3 separate regions of the Homo sapiens genome follow, and regions 1 and 2 are each linked to region 3. The links are contacts of gene promoters, found by promoter capture Hi-C in human tissues and cell types (Jung and others, 2019). All regions are on one chromosome and are shown on one strand. Each heading gives the region's core, a stretch centred on a gene start or on the middle of the fragment in contact. The rest is flanking DNA. Distances are from core to core; before and after follow the strand shown. Region 1 overlaps HACD2 (3-hydroxyacyl-CoA dehydratase 2). Region 2 overlaps ADCY5 (adenylate cyclase 5). Region 3 holds the start of ADCY5 (adenylate cyclase 5).

Region 1 (3,934 bases), core at 2-2,501, 68 kb before region 3:
TTTAGCCGGGATGGTCTCGATCTCCTGACCTCGTGATCCGCCCGCCTCGGCCTCCCAAAGTGCTGGGATTACAGGCGTGAGCCACCGCGCCCGGCCCAAATATTTTTAAAGCACTGTACAAGCCCAAACAGAACATCTATGGTCAGGGACCGTAGGTCACCATTTTGATATTTCTGGTCCAAGAGATGGTGTTCATAGCTTTTTTTCCCCACCTTTTGAAATTTTTGCAATTATTACACTGTCATAGAACAGAAAGAACCATGACATTTCACAAAATATATTGCCAGTTTCATGTTCTTTTGACATTTCAGTTACCTTTCTGTCAGTGGTAAATCTTCTCCCCTCTGGAGTGTTGGGTGGGCACATTGGGATACTGCATTTGGAGATTTGGGGGCGGACTGTGGGTTGAGTAGGCCCCAGCTCTTTTCTTGGGGCCACAGTCACCAATTGCTGAGAATATTGTTCTCTGGGCTATCATTGCTGGAGTTAAAGGACTATCACTTCATAGAATATTTAGACTGGATTAGATATATATGATGAAGGTTGGGATTAAATATGACTCCATTCTGATGCAGTGTCTGTGTTTGAATTGAGTTGAAGGTAATAGTTGCATGAAAGCTTTTCAGTTAGTAACACGCTTTTTGGAGGTGAGCAAATCAAACAGGACTAAGGAAGAATATTGGGAAAGACTAGCAGCTGGTGAGATCCTTAGACATCTCAGAGTTGGTAGACATATGTTAACCTTCAAGTAGAGGGAGAGGTGGCATCTTTTAAACAATGCTTGGGCAACAAAAAGCAAAACAAGAAAAACACAAAGCATTTCTTTGTAATTAAGCCTAAGAGACAGCCATCAGGTTGTATGGAGTCTCAGCAGTGACTAGCATAGATAGTAGGATCTCAATAAATTGAATTTTTCCCTTCATGGAATAATAATGGTAACTGCTTAAATGGCAAGGGCTTTGCTAAGCACTTAATATGTTTTTCTGACCTCTCCAGTTTACAAATGAGGAAGCTGAGGATCAGAGAGGATAAGTAACTTGCCTCAGGACATGCAGCCAGGAAGTCTGGAGATCTGTTTGATTCCAGAGTTACACTCAATTGGAGTAGAGGCCAGTGGTGGTGAAGCTAGGCTAGTTGAGGTACCGACCATCCTTTCTTCATGTTTTCCAGAAAACAGGCTGAACACATAGGAACCATTAAAGTTGGACTAATGGGAACATTTTAGCATTCTGCATGTCTGGCCTGTCATAAATGCAGAATCGATCATGTATCGCTTGTTGATTGCATGCTTATATATCTTTTCATTGCATGTTCAGAAAAGTTTACTTTGTGACCAAGAGTTGTTTTGATAGGCCAGAACATTTAACTAGTCCATTATTCACATCAAAAAAATAGTTCTCAGTTATTGGTGTTGTAATGGTAAGAACTTTTTAACCAGTTTCCTTTGTCACTGTAGGATTTTTTTAAAAATCTGGCCGGGTATGGTGGCACACGCCTGTAATCCCAGCACTTTGGGAGGCCGAGGTGGGCGGATCACGAGGTCAGAAGATCGAGACCATCCTGGCTAACACGGTGAAACCCCATCTCTACTAAAAATACAAAAAATTAGCCGGGCGTCGCAGCGGGCGCCTGTAATCCCAGCTACTCGGGAGGCTGAGGCAGGAGAATGGCGTGAACCCGGGAGGCGGAGGTTGCAGTGAGCAGAAGATCATGCCACTGCACTGCAGCCTGGGTGACAGAGCGAGACTCCATCTCAAAAAAAAAAAAAAAAAATATGTTGCACATTATTCTCTCCTTTAAAGGGGAAGAAATATTAATATTTTTATAACTCACATTTTTCATAAAATAGGAATAGTATTTTGTTTAGCAGGCACTTTATCATGGATTTTTAATAAATTATAAAGGACACTTTATACATAAAATTGTTGTGTGAAAAGACTAATACTAGGCCAGGCGCGGTGGCTCATGCCTGTAATCCCAGCACTCTGGGAAGCCAAGGAGGGCGGATCACTTAAGATCAGGAGTTTGAGACTAGCCTGGGCAACATGGTGAAACCCCGTCTCCACCAAAAAAATACAAAAATTTAGCCGGGCATGGTGGTGCATACCTGTAGTCCCCAGCTACTCCAGAGACTGAGGCAAGATAATCACTTGAACTGGAGAGGCGGAGATTGCAGTGAGCTGACACTGTGCCACTGCACTGCAGCCTGGGTGACAGAGCAAGACTCCGTCTCAAAAAAAAACAAAAAACCCCAACATACTCATCCAAATATCTTTTTTTTTTAAACCACCATGTGTGTATCTATTACTATTACATTTCAATATCAAGGATGAAATTCCTTTTAGATAAATAACCAAATGACTTAACATTTTTGTTCAAAAAAGCTTAATCAAGTTAGAGAAAGGACCCAGATTGTCGTTAGAACTGCCCTGTTCTCGAGCCCAAGCCCTCAGCTGACGGACCAACCAGCACCAGCACTGCAGCCCCTTAGGAGCTGCCCTCCCACCCAAGGCTGTTCCAGCTGAGTCAGAGCACATTTGCTGAGACTGCAGTTGGGTTGCCATCTATTATTTCTTCATTCCTGTTCATTCAACAGATATTTATTCAGTATCTTCTATGCCCCAGGCATTGTGCTAAGCACTAAGTAAGACACATGAGAAAAGGACAGATGCAGTTGTTGCCCTCACAGGGCTTCCAGCCTAGTATGAGTCAAGCAGAATCCAGCAGACAGCAAACACCATATAGTGGGATAACTGCTAAGGCAGAGGGATGATAGTGCTGTGACCGCTGGGTCATCCCTCAGTTGCCCAGTTGAGGGCTGAGTAGGCTGTTCCAGTTCCTCAGGAGCTGTGCCAGTCTCCCAGGCCCCGTGGTTCCCTTCATGAGGTGGTCTGCGAGTTAACACATACAAAGCACTTAGAACACTGCCTGGTGCTTAGTAAGTGCTCAATAAATCTTAGCTACCTACTGGGTATAATGTAACCTAATCTTTCCCCAAAAATTTAATGACAAATTTCTGTATAACTGTTTTGAATTCTGTGTCCTGAGGTTTCTAACAGAGATATAATTGGCTTTTCACACAGAACTGAATATGTTCTTTATACATACTAAAATAGTTTCACAGTTAGCTGGTGAAAATTTATGCATAATTACTTTTATCATTCTTAAGGAATAATTAGCCCTGCTAATGGGAACTATCATTATCTTAATCATCATTATTATCCCAATCTAAAGCATTTATTAAGAATTTGATTTTGCCTTATAACTAAGCTAGCCCTTCTTCAAAGCAAGTTTGTGACCTTGTCTTCGGCTTGTTTACGGTCTAAGACAATACTGATGGGGAGGTAGATTGGGGCCAGTGTTCATTCTGCTGTTCCCTCTCAAGTTACCTTCCATTCATGTACGCTTGTTGATATGTTTTCTTATAAATGTTATGTCTTTATGGTTATAAAACCCACCTCTTCCAGCAGATCCTGAGGCCTCACACCCAAAATAATATGTTTAGAGAACCAGATAATAGTTATATTTCCTTCTCATTGTACCCCCGGAGTGGTTGCTTAGTATTTAGGTGATTTTTAGAAAACAATTTTTTCTGAAGTAATTTCAAACTTAGAGAAAAGTTGCCAGAGCAGTACAAAGAACTCTCATATTCTCTTCACTCAGATTCCCCAATTATTGGCATTTTACTTCATTTGTTTCGTTTCCTACTCTCTCTGTGTTTTTTGTTTTTTTGAGACAAGTCTCACTCTGGTGCCCCAGGCTGGAGTGCAATGGCGAGATCTTGGCTCACTGCAACCTCTGCCTCCTGGGCTCAAGCGATTCTCCCACCTCAGCCTCCTGAGTTGCTGGGACCACAGGCGCTTGCCACCACGCTCGGCTAATTTTTGTATTTTTTGTAGTGGCAGGGTTTCACCATGTTGCCCAGGCTGGTCTT
Region 2 (3,748 bases), core at 87-2,586, 97 kb after region 3:
CTTTCAAAAGTGAAATCCCAGCACCCTTGTGGCACCTTCCTTGCAGTGGCCCTCCTGCCCCGAGCACACACACAGCTCTGTCACAGTACATGTAGCCTTTTAATTTCTGGTACTATAGGCATGTTTAGTATGATTATTAGGTGATTCAGTGTCTTTAGAGGACATATCCCATGACAAGCCAGCCAAACTTCTGGCTTTGAGGACATCAGAGAGCCCGATCGATTATGCTCGGCTGCTCACAGTGGTTGGCCGCGTGTGGGGTGCCCTCAGCATTTGTTTGCTAGCGCCAGGTGTGAGTTTGCTGAGACAGGGGCTGAGGGCTTCATGCTTTGGGGCCAGGAAGGTCAGGATCTGAGCTAGGTGTGCTCCTCTCTCCCTCTGCAGCTTGTCTCCAATGTTCTCATTTTCTCCTGCACCAACATCGTGGGTGTCTGCACCCACTATCCGGCTGAGGTCTCCCAGAGACAGGCTTTCCAGGAGACCCGAGAGTGCATCCAGGCGCGGCTCCACTCGCAGCGGGAGAACCAGCAGCAGGTGAGTGAGGCCCCTGCCCTTGCACAGTGGGACGGAGTCGAGCCCTGAGATGTACCTCAGCTGAGTGCCTGGCCTAGGGCGGGCAGTGCTTATTACGGCTGCCAGCCCCACTCCCCGGGAGGGGACCAACCCATGGGGAATGTTTCCCCTGGAGAGAGTCCAGCATTCCAGGCCCTGTGGGAAGTGAGTTCTACCCAGCCCGTGCCCAAGGCCTGGTGCCCATAGCCATGTGGCGTCCCTGTGGTTTGCAAACAAGCCCAGCAGCCAGAGGGTCCCTCTCTCCCTCCCCACACGGCCCCCACTCCTTCCCCACACTGCTCACCACTCCCTCCCCGCACTGCACCCCGCCTTGAGTTGGAGTAAGGAGAGAAGCCAGCATTCCTAACTGGGATTAAGGTGCTCCGCAGGGGAGGGATGAGGGAGAAGAAGAGGAGACAGGAGCTGTCATCCCCTGAAACACCCCACACCTGGCTATTCCCCTCTCTGAGTTCTGGGGTTTGGTGGTTCTGAGAAGGAAGAAAGTCCCATCTCTTCCTAGACCGACTGCCTGGGTCAGGGAAGGCAGGCCATTCCCAGGGCCACAGATTCCTGGTGCAAAGAGGGACCTGCCCTGTGTGCACCACTCTTGGGTGGGGTGGGAGCAGGGCTGAGGGCCACATCAGGGGTCCAGCCCTTCCCTCTTTGGGGGCGGAGTCCTGTTTGGATTCCAGGTCTGGATCCCCACTGTCTCCTCTTCTGTGTGTGAATCAGGTAGGGGTCTGGTGACTCTGAGTCATGGCTCACACATGGGAGGCCTGGGGGGCTGTGTGGCCTAGGGGAGAGAGTGGGCGGGTCTGCAGGGTGATGGGGCTCCCACTAGCTCCTGTGAGATAAGGTTGCTCCAAACCGGAGGCCTTCCCTCCCATCTTAGATTACCATCTCCCCAGACCCTCAGCAAGCATCAGTGGAGCTCATCTAAGTGCCGCATGCTGCGTCAGCCCCCATGGCTGATATGAACATGGAAGGTCTGCCTTTGAGTGTGGGGGACACGGAGAAATGGCCAAGATGGCAGTGGTCACTCATGGCTCCAGGCTGGCACGGAGCACATGCTGTGGCCACCCTGAGTGCAGAATGTTTTAGTACTGTGGGGGGTGTCCTTGATGCCATCTGGTTGCATCCTAAGTGAGTCACAGTGATATGGCTGGTGACATCCAGACAGCCAAACGAGGGGGCAAAGCTCTGTAGTACCTCTCCAGGCCCCCCAGTCCCCACCTGTCTCCACTTCCCTTCCAGCGCTGCCTCGGTGGTCGCCATGTCTTGTCAGGTCTCCACTTAAGCTGACCAGTCCCCAGCCTGGCTCTCCCCATTCACTCTGGCCCTGTCTGAGCTTCTGGTCCAGCATCTTGAAGGAAGCCCTTGCTGGCAGGGTCCCTGGGGTCCTCCCACTGCCCTTTATTAACACATGTACCTCGCCTCTGGCACACTGCACCACACTCACCCCCAGGCCTCAGCATTCCTGAAAAGCCCCTCATCATCCCCATTCCAGGCCTCAGCATCTCTCACCTGAGATCAGGATACCTCCTCCTTCCATTTTTGGGGCTGTGCCTCTCACTTCTCCAGGGGAATTACCATTTTACAGCTTGCCACAGTTTCCTTGCTCTGCCCGGGCCAGTCTGGGCATTCCACCAAATCCACAGGGATTTAGGGGAGAAAATATTTTTGCCATTCCATATTCGGAGCCAATGTGCTGAGGAGGGGAAGCTTTCTGCAGACAGGTGCTTCTCAACCGGCCATAGCCAGCAAGGCGTGCAGAAAGAGCTGCTGGGGCTCCCTGGGGGAAGCTTCTAGGTGCCCTGTGATGAGTGGGCTCAGAATTGTTCCTCAGCGGCCCCCTGCCCACCCCTCCTGGCCCTCAGCCCCAGAGGTGGTTGTAAATGTAGGAGGGCCTCTCATGAAGCCAAACGGTTTGTAGCACGGTCTCTCCCAGTCATCCCACACTGTCTTTTAATTCCTATTTCTATCACCAGTAACTATTTACTGAGAGTTGGCCTTTGGTGGTCGTGTTTCCTGCTGCTTGGGGAGACCAGACCGACCCACAGAGAACACCGCCCTTCACTAATGTGTCAGCTTCTCGAGCATAAGGCTCTGGGCTGTGGCACTGGACAAGACGCAGCTCCGGTCCCCAAGGTGGCCTCTCCTCACACACAGTTAACAGGCCACTGATGTGGCGTTTCAGCGAGTGGGGGAGGGGATGCCAGCAGCCAGAATTGGACCTCCTCCTGGGAAAAGGGAGACCCTGAAGGAGGGTGAGGAGCAGCGGAGGAGGAGGGTGATGCCAGCTGAGGAGCTTGTGCACAACAGCAAGAAAGACCCCAGGAAGTGTGGGGGCCTCTGTGTTCTGCTCTATCTGGAGTGGAGTGTGGATTTCATTTCAGTGCTGCTGGGACAGCAGGTGGAAGGGCAGGGAGGAGTCAGGTCACGGAAACCTCCAGGCCAGGCTGTGGGCGTGGGCTGATCTCAGCAGTGTCAGGAGGCTTAGAAGGCGACATGGTCTGGTGTATTTTAGGAAAAGCAGTTGCTTGCTTGCAGTGGGAAGGATGGACCAGAGGCAGCAAGCTTGGAGACAAGCAAAGTGATCTGGAGGGTACCCTGGTCATCCAGTCTGGCCCTGAAGGTGGCCTGGGCGGCAACAGGCTGAGGTTTGGGTGGAGAGGGTGCTTCAGCAAGGAGAGGAGCAGCAGCCAGTCTGGGGGTGGCAGGAGCGGGCCAGGCAAGCATGAGGCATAGCAAGGGGGTAGGGGGACATGGGCTTTGCTTTGCAGTGGAAAATAAGGAAGAGTGAGTTCAGCGGGTCTGGAAGAACCCATATGTGATGTGGCTGGTGAAACTAGAAAACCTGTGGAGGTGTTGAGCACAGGTAGTGTTTCAGAGAGATCGGGGCTGTGCAGGCGTCAGGGAGGGCAGAGGGAGGCTGTCGGTCCAGGGTGTCGCGACCAGAATCCAAGAGCCAGGCGAGAACTGCATGTGGGCAGTGGAGGAAGGCACAGAACAGAAAGGACAAGTGTGAGAGCTGTTTCCAGATGAGCAGGACTTCGTCAGTGCTGGACAGGTCCTGCGGCTGAGGGGAAAGGAATGAGTGTCAGAGGGAAAGATCTGAAAAGCAAAAGCCACTTACGTGGGCAGGATGTTGGCACTGGTGCAGCAGAATGGGGCTGTCCCAGGCAAAGGCAGGGAA
Region 3 (4,339 bases), core at 1,840-4,339:
AATTCTCCTGCCTCAGCCTCCCAAGTAGCTGGGACTACAGGCACACACCACCACGCCTAGCTAATTTTTGTATTTTTAGTAGAGACAGGGTTTCACCACGTTGGCCAGGATGGTTTCGATCTCTTGACCTCGTGATCCGCCTGCCTTGGCCTCCCAAAGTGCTAGGATTAGAGTCGTGAGCCACCATGCCCGGCCTTTTTATTTTTTATTTTTTTTTTGAGACAGAGTCTCATTCTGTCAACCAGGCTGGAGTGCAATGGCATGATCTCGGCTCACTGCAACCTCCACCTCCCGGATTCAAGTGATTCTCCTGCCTCAGCCTCCAGAGTAGGATTACAGGCTCACACCGCCACGCCCGGCTAATTTTTGTATTTTTAGTAGAGACGGGTTTCACCATGTTGGCCAGGCTGGTCATGAGCGCCAGACCTCAGATGATCTGCCTGCCTCAGCCTCCCAAAGTGCTGGGGTTACAGGCATGAGCCACCATGCCTGGCTGGACAAACTTTTTGATTCCCTAAGTCTGTTTTCTCATCTTTATAGTGGGGATAACCTTCCTCAGAATAGTTATCTGACAATAAAATGTTTACAGACATACAACAGTTGCTTAGTAAATATTAATTAGTCCATCCTCCCTTTCTTAGACATCCTTCCCTGCTAGACCCAGGTTTGACTTCCAGGCCCTTGTTTGGCCCTCACAGTGGGAAGTGACACCCCCTCTCTCTGAATGCCCGAGGTGCTGTTTGCACTTCTATTGAACCCAGAACTTTGCTCTGACCTAGAGATAGTGGCTAGCTCTTCTCCGTCACTGACTTGTTCGACTTGTTCCCGGTCTAGAGTTTGGTCATCTCTCTATCCTGGTAGCAACTAGCACAATGCTTTGTACATTGAGGGTTCTCTAGAATTTTTATTGACTAAATTCATGTTTTTTTTTACAACTTGGCTAATAGTGGAATACTCAAAGGCTGGATTACCCAAGGGTTAGTTTATTCTGACCTCTTGGAATTTTTCTCCTCCCAATTTGTAACTCTGGCAAGGTTTATCTTCCAGTCTGCAGAGATGACCAGCAGAGAGAGACAAAGAAGGAAGCTCACTTAGACCTCTAGGCTCCCTGTCAGAAGCTCTGGGGAGAGAGTTGGAGGATGAAGAAGGGGAAAGTAAAAGCTGTTTACCCCCAGGCTGGGTAGGAGTGTGGTCTCCCACCTCTCCAGGGTTTAGACTGTCAGAACTCCAGCAGGACAGCTTGGGGGCAAAGGGAATTGGGTAGACACATCATTCTACAGGCCTACGTCCTTTTTGCCTAGCAGTCGAATCCTTCTCTCCATTCCTGCCTCTTGTGGCTGGTGCTGTGTATCTAGCCATTTTCCCCTTCCCCTGCTTCCCCCCAAGTGGGCACGCCAGCTTGCTCAGGTGCCCATCCTTCCTGCTAACACCTTGTTAGGTTAGGGAGGCAGTCTGGCGCTGACGAAGGACCTTTGGGTGCCAAGTTAGTAGACCTGTGTGACCTATAGCAAGTTGAATAAGCTCCCAGAGCCTCAGTTTCTGCATCTATAAGCTGGGAATAGCTACACGGTCTCTGTCCTCTGTCTCATCCTAGGATTACTGACGGGAACCAAGTGAGATTTATGAGACTTTACGAACAGGCAAAGAGCGCTTTATAAAAGCCAGGTGTTTCCAGTGTTCACTGTGGGGCTTTCTCCTGGTAACTACCCACCAAAGCCTCCCTGTCCGCCCCGCCCCGGCTGCATCGGCCTCACCCACTGCATCACCATCTTTTCCATCACTGTCTTCCTGCGTCTCAGAAGTCCTGTTTCTGCATCTCCCCTGTCCATTTCCGGGTCTGGCTCTCCGGCCCCTGAGACCCCTCCAGGGACTCTGTTCTCCTTCTCCTTGAGGCACTCGCTGCCCAGGCGCCCCCCACCCGGTGCGCCCTCCTTTGGCACAGCCGCCGGGCCAGAGAATCGCCCAATAAGAGCGCCGGACTGTAGTCTGACAGCTCCGGAAGCGGCCAATCGAGCCGGGCCAGGGAAGGGGGGCGCAGCGCCGGGGCTGAAGTTGGGTTAAATGGGGGGAGGGGGATTAAAGGGGGATACAAAAGAGGGGAGCTAGGACTGGGGGCGCTGGAGCCCTGGCCGGGGGCGGGGGAAGACCGCGCTCCACCCAGGTCTGGTGACGGGACCGCAGGCTGGATGCGGCTCCTAGTCCCAGGGAGGGAGGGGCGCAGCGAGAATTTTAGGTGAGGAAGGGGAACTGGGGTGCCCGCGGCCAGGCCTGAGGATGCCCGCGGGGCGCCGAGGCTGGGGCCATGGCCAGGCCGGGGGCGGAGGCGGCCTCGCGCGGCTGTGAGCCGAGGCCCGGGCGGCGCGGGGGGCGGGGAGGCAGCGGGAGGAGGGGATGCGGAGGGCTCTCCGGCGGCGGCGAGCGGGCGAGAAGGGAGGAGCGGCGCGAGCGGCCGGAGCGGCGCAGGGCCCGAAGCGTGCATGGCGCGCCCTGAGCCGGGCTCCCGCGGGCCCCCCCGGAGCGCCTCTCGGGCGCCGCGGCTCTCAGGCGGGCCCCTCTGGGCCGGCTGCTTCTGAGCCCCGGCGCTGGATCTCTGGATGCCTTACTCCCCGGGAGAAGCCTGCCTGCGTCGGGGCAGAACCGCGGCAGCGCTGCGCCGGATTCCGTCCTCCGCCTAGTCGTTCCGCGCCGGCCGCGGTGGGCCCGCAGCCGGCGACGAGGAGCTTGGGGCTTGCGAAGCGGGCGCGACAGCTCTCCGGGCCGGCAGGTCCCGGCCGGCCCCGCTCCGTTTGCGGGAAAGGGAGAGGCGAGAGGGGAAGGGCCGCACCGCAGGAGCCGGTCCCTGACCCGGACCCCGCCCCCTGCGCGGACGCGCCGAAGGCTCGGCTCGGCTTTCGCCGGGGCCACGCATCCACTCTCGCCGCGAGAGGTGGGGGATGCGGGCAACGGCCCCCCCGGGCTCCAGGACCCTCCCCCCCGGGGCTCCGGAGCTGTTGCTCCGCCCGTCGCCCCCTCCCCCGTCCTCTCCACCTCCCATCCCACCTCCCCACCCCTCGTAAGAAAATAATGCTGGCTGGCGCCCGCACCTCCCAGTCGCTCCCAGTCCGCTGCGAGGAAAGCGCACCCGCAGTGTCTCTTCGCCGGGACCCCCGCCGAGCCGCCCTCGCCGCCGCCGAGCCCCGAGAGCAGCTGGGCTCCGCTTAGGCGGAATCAGCGAGCGCCGCGCCCGGGCACTGCCGGCCCGAGGAGGCACCGCCCGCAAGGACACCACTCCGTCCCGTCTCGTCCGCAACTCCGGCCCTCGTCGAGCTCGACGCGAGCCAGGATCCCGGACGTCTCTCCGCGTGCGGCGCAGCAGCAGCCAGACCAGTCCCTGCGACCCCACCTCGGAGGCAACTCCATTTCGGACCTGGGACTTCTGACGCGGATCCTCAGCTACTTCTCACCTCGGGGCTGTGCCCTCCTCCTCCGCTCAGGACGGGGGTGCCAAGATGCCCCGCTGCAGCGCAGGGCCCCGGGCCGCCCCCGACGTGTGACCCTAGCCTGGTCCCCCTGCTCGGCCGTCCGCCCTCCCCTTGGAGACCCCCGGCCCGGCTTCCGGGGGAGGAGGAAGGAGACGACGAGGCCGAGGGGGGGATGTCCGGCTCCAAAAGCGTGAGCCCCCCGGGCTACGCGGCGCAGAAGACTGCGGCGCCGGCGCCCCGGGGAGGCCCCGAACACCGCTCTGCGTGGGGCGAGGCCGATTCCCGCGCGAATGGCTACCCCCATGCCCCCGGGGGCTCTGCCCGCGGCTCCACCAAGAAACCCGGGGGGGCGGTGACCCCGCAGCAGCAGCAGCGCCTGGCCAGCCGCTGGCGCAGCGACGACGACGACGATCCTCCGCTGAGCGGTGACGACCCCCTGGCCGGGGGCTTCGGCTTCAGCTTCCGCTCCAAGTCCGCCTGGCAGGAGCGCGGCGGCGACGACTGCGGTCGCGGCAGCCGCCGGCAGCGGCGGGGCGCGGCCAGCGGGGGCAGCACCCGGGCGCCCCCTGCGGGCGGCGGCGGCGGCTCGGCGGCGGCGGCTGCCTCGGCGGGCGGGACGGAGGTGCGCCCTCGCTCGGTGGAGGTGGGTCTGGAGGAGCGGCGGGGCAAGGGGCGCGCGGCCGACGAGCTGGAGGCCGGCGCCGTCGAGGGCGGCGAGGGGTCCGGGGATGGCGGCAGCTCGGCGGACTCGGGCTCGGGCGCGGGGCCCGGCGCGGTGCTGTCCCTGGGCGCCTGCTGCCTGGCGTTGCTGCAGATATTCCGCTCCAAGAAGTTCCCGTCGGACAAACTGGAGCGGCTGTACCAGCGCTACTTCTTCC

The links. Contacts are between HindIII fragments. The study calls those that stand out against the background at their distance.
Region 1: a fragment that was not itself captured here is called in contact with the fragment with the promoter of ADCY5 in region 3 in 2 of the 25 tissues and cell types used here (bladder and ovary).
Region 2: a contact is called between a fragment that was not itself captured here and the fragment with the promoter of ADCY5 in region 3, in 5 of the 25 tissues and cell types used here (IMR-90 fibroblasts, dorsolateral prefrontal cortex, heart left ventricle and 2 more).

The regions. Positions count from the first base shown.
Region 1 is chr3:123,514,073-123,518,006 of GRCh38, reverse strand. The region is part of intron 4 of HACD2 (3-hydroxyacyl-CoA dehydratase 2); the gene reads left to right. Among named protein-coding and RNA genes, the nearest start is that of ADCY5, 67 kb to the right of the region's middle. The HindIII fragment of the contact is 5,021 bases long and covers 1-3,761 here.
Region 2 is chr3:123,349,218-123,352,965 of GRCh38, reverse strand. ADCY5 (adenylate cyclase 5) reads left to right here. Exons shown (of 21, transcript NM_183357.3): 2 at 385-534. Among named protein-coding and RNA genes, the nearest start is that of ADCY5, 98 kb to the left of the region's middle. RefSeq lists enhancers at 963-1,941, 3,027-3,527. The HindIII fragment of the contact is 4,980 bases long and covers 1-3,748 here.
Region 3 is chr3:123,447,840-123,452,178 of GRCh38, reverse strand. ADCY5 (adenylate cyclase 5) reads left to right here and starts at 3,089. Exons shown (of 21, transcript NM_183357.3): 1 at 3,089-4,339. The coding sequence starts at 3,634. RefSeq lists an enhancer at 4,028-4,339. The HindIII fragment of the contact is 15,282 bases long and covers 1-4,339 here.